Regions from separate parts of the Homo sapiens genome. Here region 2 is linked to region 1. The links are contacts of gene promoters, found by promoter capture Hi-C in blood cells and fetal thymus (Javierre and others, 2016). All regions are on one chromosome and are shown on one strand. The core of a region is centred on a gene start or on the middle of the fragment in contact, and the rest is flanking DNA. Distances in the headings are between cores, read along the strand shown.

Region 1 (2,575 bases), core at 32-2,531:
TTTATCTTAATTCTGTCCATATAAATATATTCATAAAGACCAAAAAAGGAAAGGAAGCTTGGGATGTTAAGGTAATAGGAGGACAGTGTGGGACTTTCCCAATTCTACCTGACCAAAAAATGAGAAATTAATTTTATGATAGGAGAAGAGATTTAAAAAAATGATAGAAGAGGATGGAAGCCAGGCACAGTGGCTCACGCCTGTAATCCCAGCACTCTGGAAGGCCAAGGCAGGTGGATCACCTGAGGTCAGGAGTTTGAGGCCAGCCTGGCCAACATGGTGAAACTCCGTCTCTACTAAAAATACAAAAATTAGCCGGGCATGGTGGCGCGTGTCTGTAGTGCCAGCTACTTGGGAGGCTGAGGCAGGAGAATCACCTGAACCCAGGAGCTGGAGGTTGCAGTTAGCCAAGATCGTGCTACTGCACTCCAGCTGGGGTGACAAGAGCGAAACTCCGTCTCAAAAAAAAAAAAAAAAAAAAAAAGAAGAGGATGGGAAGAAGAGTGATGCAAGGGGGGTCAACCAGGGAAAAAGAGAGGACCCATGGCAGGGGAGCAAGAAGGAGTCCAATGCCAGTGTAGGTATCTGTGTTTCCATCTTCATCACTGTCTTAGGTTCCAGTTTAACATCAGTTTCCTTACTTCCTGCCTCTGTCCATGGTCTGTCAGGATCCTTCAACCCCCTCCACCCTGCCCTTGCTCCTTCTGTGACAGTCCCTTTCCCCTCCTCCATTTATTGGGAGCTGGCTCGCTCCAGGATCCTCAGGTCATAGTTCTTTTTGGCCATTCGAAGTTTGAAGCGACTCACGGAGTTGTTGAGACGAAGGGAGGCATTTTGGGCAGCCAGGGGGCTGGGGAACACAGCCACAATGGTGTACAAGGCAGCGAGGTCCGAGTGGCGGCCATTCTCAGCAGTCCCACTGTTGTCCCCCCCACCCCCTCCAGGCAGCCCCTGAGCATCCTTGAGCCACTGGATCTTGGCGCCAGACATGGCGAGCTGCGTGAAGAGTTTGTCCGCCTCAGTACGGGTGATGCCCTCAGGGAGATCTGTCACCTCCAGCACCCGCCCCAGGACTGGAAGGGGAGGAGAGAGGACATGGTTGTGAGAGGAATAGGACAGGAAGGACTTGACAGCAGCCCAGCAGAGAAGTGTCCAGCTGACTAAGTCTGTATACAATGTCTTCAAAAGCCTGGCCTTTCTCTCTTAGCCCTTTCTTCCCCTCCCCACCATCCCAGCTCTGATCAGGGCAACTAGGAGAAAAACAAATGAACCTTTCTATTCTCCTAGCCCAGAGATACAGGAAAGAAGGGACAGGGAATCAGAATCCTGGGTTTCTGAGCTAAGAACCTATACCTCAGTTCTCTCACAAGGTGCTACTGCTATGAAGAAAATGTGGCTTTTGCTAATGTTCTTTAACAATAATGTATCAATCTGAAATATGTTCCATAGTTCCCTTCCCACTCAGAGGCTGGCTCAAATAGATTCTTCCTTCTTATCATCTCAGGAAGTCAAGTTTCCCTTCCTTTCCTTGTTTAGGAAATTGCTCCAAATCCCAAGACAGATCTTGTTCACCTAGTGGGAGGCTTGTAGGACGAGAGTTTCTCCCCCATATTCTCTACCAATCTTCTCCTAAACTGGGTCTAGGACTACCAAAGGTAGATGTCGTAGATTAGGGACAGGACACTAATTAGAAAACTCTTTGTTAATAAGAGGCAACTCCCATAATTGTGTTATTCCCACTTTTTACCATGATCTTCCTCAGAATCTGAGATGGCTTGGTAGGGAGGACTGAGATACTTCACTTCTCCAGTTTCTGCTTGCTTTTGAGCACAAAGGGTCCCACTTCCACTCCCCATCCTAAGCTGGCTTTTCCCACCCATGCTGGACTGGTAATTAAGCGCTGGAAGGGTGGGCACCTTCTCTTGGGGATTCAGCATCCCGTGACTCACCAACATCTGCTGTCCCCAGGTCAGTGGAGGCAGATTTGAGTGCTTGTCTCTTGCCCCGGTTTCCATGCTTCAGTCCACTCTGTCCCTTCAACATTTGAAAGACGACTCTCATCCCATGTAAACAACATTGACTGCCTTGCATCAGAATGTCTGCCTGAGAGATTGTGGAGTAGCACCAACCCAGAGGACCCCACCCCACTAGGCAGTCAGGTTGGCCATGGAGCAGCGACTGAGAAACAAAGAGCCCCTCCCTCTTGGCATGGGGGTCGGGTGGGAGACATGAGTATAGGAGGTAGGGCAAGGCTCCTGCTTTGTTCATTCTGTGTTATTTCCCTTGTATACCCAGCTGGTTGAAGCTCAGACACAGGCACCCAAATAAGAAGAGGGGTCTGATGGCCCTACAGTTGCTGGTGGACACCCTTACCTGGTGCACCGTGTAAGTTGACTGGCCATGGAGCAAGGGAGGGCAGATGGACAGATTGTACTGTAATGGCTGGCCCAAAAGGGAGTAGCGCCCATCACCTAGGGAGTAAGAGCAATTGGTTTTCTGGGAGCTTAAGCTTCATAGTATGACTTTTATAAGACTTCAAGGGGCTTTGGAGACAGCAACAATGCATACTATTCCT
Region 2 (2,575 bases), core at 37-2,536, 290 kb after region 1:
ATACCACCCAGGCTGGGGTTGGCATACCCGCTTATTGCTGTAGCTCCCCCGAGAAAGGGAAGGACCTGTCTAGGGGAGAAAGGTCAGAGTCCGGAGGAGTCTGTGGCAGCACACATTCTTACCGCATCGAACTCCGCTTGATCATCCTCAGGTAGGTCGCTAGTTTCATAAACATCTGGCTCATTCCTGGCCTGCAGGTAGAAGCAGTGACCACCCAACCTCACTACCCAGCATCCAACAACACCCCTTCCCCCACTCCATTTGAATAAGCTAACAGAGAAGGCGGGGTGTGATGTCAGGGTTCTGTCCTTTCTCCTCCACCTGCCCCGTGAGTCAACAGTATGTCAGTTCCCATGTCTCAAGGGGTAGGGATGACAGCGGAAACAATTGGGACCTGACAGTAAACGGTGAGTGTAAGTGATAGCAACGATGTTACCCTAAATCTAGAGGCGGGCAGGTCCTTGGCAATCACTATTGCCAAAGAAGGTGAAGGCTATCCTCCAATTAGGCCCCGTACACCACCACCCTGGCACAAGGATTGAGAGTGACTCAGGACCTTAGTACTCAAGGTCCTGTGTCCCAACCCTCACCTTGAGAAGCAGGCAGGGCAGCACAAAAGGAAGGTACACGCCAGGATTGTCATGGGAGTGGGGGCTGGGGGAGGGCATAGGTTCCCTCAAGGATAGAGCTCCCCATCTGGCACAAGAGGGTTCTGCCAGATGGCAGAACCTCTTCCTTGGCAGGATGAAGGCCATCGTTAAGTGGTCTGGTGTGTGTGTCTGGGGTAGCGATGGGGTCTTATGGAGAGATTTGGGGGGGACATGGGAGGCGTTGACACGGATGGTGGAAAAACTCAGGCACAAGAGGTCAGTACCCGGAGTCGATTTCTGGGCCGAGCTACCGGCGACTGCCGGAAAGGGGGCCTGGTGCGCCGTCCGGCGGCCCGGCCCAGTCGGGTCAGAAGAGTTCGGGGGGTGCTGAGGCCGATCGGAGAACGAGCGGCGGGAGCCCTTGGGCGGAGGATGGGCTGCAGGCGGGAGGGGTCGCGGGCTGGTTTCTGCTGGGGGTCCTTGGGAGGTCGGGGGCGCGGTCCTGGGGAGCCGGGGCCGGTCCTGTACTCACAATGCCGGGAAGGTCGGCGTATTTAGGGTCCGCCATGGCGGCGGCGAGACGGGCTGGGGGACCCGGGCCTCGGTGGAGCCGGGGCCGGTGTTCGGGTAGGGGAGAGGCTGGGTTCGGGTCCCGGGCTAAGGCGGCGGCAAAGGGAGCGGCAGATGAGCAGGAAGTCTCGCGACAGCAGTAGCACAGCAGAAGGGTAAAGCAAAAGTCGCGAGAACAGCCCTGCTGCCACACCCCTGGAGAGGCCGGGATTGGGGAGAACGAGGCCAGGGAATGAGGTAATGGCCAGGGGACGCCGCCTAGGATTGTGGGATGTGTAGTTTTGGTGTACTGGAGCTTGGGCGGGGAGCGACAATAACGAACCTTGGGGAGCTATTTCATACAGCCTTTTCTCTCACTTTTACAGCAAGTCAGTGAAAGAACATTTATAATTCCTGTTTGGGGCTCCCAGGAATAAAATGACTAGATTAAATGATACAGGTAGTCATACTGTGACACAGCCGGGGTTTCAAAAACAAGAAGTTTGCTTGATACTGTGTATTATAAAAACAAAATAAAAACAAGAAGTAAAATTTAGTAAACGCGTAGTGTATGTTAGGAATGAAAAAGTTAGGCAATCTTCTCAAGTAAGGGCTTTCAGATAATTTGAATTTCAGATAATAAGTAGGTGTGTGTGTGTGGTGTGTGGTGTGTGGGTATACTAACCCCCCAAAAATTAAGTATCTGAAATTCACATTTAACTGGGCATCCTGTTTTTGTTTTTTGTTTTTCAAATCTGGCAATTCTATCTGAAGTTCATAAGTAGGTAAGTGGTGTCTCCATGTCTGTCTGAACACTCTCTGGGCTCTTAACTACTTCGTTAATAGTTCTCAGACTTTTATTTATTTTTCAATTTTTTCAATTTTGTGGGTACACAGTAGGTGTATGTATTTATGGGACACATGAGATATTTTGATACAGGCATGCAATGTGAAATAAGCACATCATGGAGAAGAGGGTATCCATCCTCTCAAGCATTTATCCTTTAAGTTACAAATAATCCAATTACTCTTTAAGTTATTTTAAAATGTACAGTTGAGTTATTCTTGACTATAGTCACCCTATTGTGCCATCAAATAGTAGGTCTTATTATACTTTCTAATTTTTTGTACCTATTCACCAACCTTACCTTCCGTTCTCAGACTTTTAAATTTCATCGTTCAATAAAATTAAAACAACTACAAACCTTGAAGATTTGCCTTTTTATTTTATCAAGTAAGTATATTACAAATAGAAAACCTATTATTTACTGTCACCATCATTACTTGGTAGAAAAGCAAGAAGGACACACTCAGAATAAAAGATAGTCCTTTGAAACTTATCAAATCCATCTTTATATTAAAAAAAAACTCACCATTGTTCTTTTGGAGGTGAGGGCATACTCAGTGAACTTTTGTCTCTGACCAGTGACCCTCCA

What was found. The method cuts DNA at HindIII sites, captures the fragments that hold promoters and counts their contacts. A CHiCAGO score of 5 or more calls a contact.
Region 2: the fragment with the promoter of DCTN2 here is called in contact with a fragment that was not itself captured in region 1 in 1 of 17 cell types (neutrophils); the score reaches 5.2 in neutrophils.

The regions. Positions count from the first base shown.
Region 1 is chr12:57,254,041-57,256,615 of GRCh38, forward strand. It overlaps R3HDM2 (R3H domain containing 2), which reads right to left. Exons shown (of 24, transcript NM_001394031.1): 22 at 2,374-2,471; 23 at 1,950-2,034; 24 at 1-1,073. The coding sequence ends at 733. Among named protein-coding and RNA genes, the nearest start is that of STAC3, 4.1 kb to the left of the region's middle. The HindIII fragment of the contact is 2,452 bases long and covers 56-2,507 here.
Region 2 is chr12:57,545,906-57,548,480 of GRCh38, forward strand. DCTN2 (dynactin subunit 2) reads right to left here and starts at 1,287. Exons shown (of 14, transcript NM_001261413.2): 1 at 1,123-1,287; 2 at 123-191. The coding sequence starts at 1,158. RefSeq lists an enhancer at 1,416-1,555. The HindIII fragment of the contact is 9,827 bases long and covers 1-2,575 here.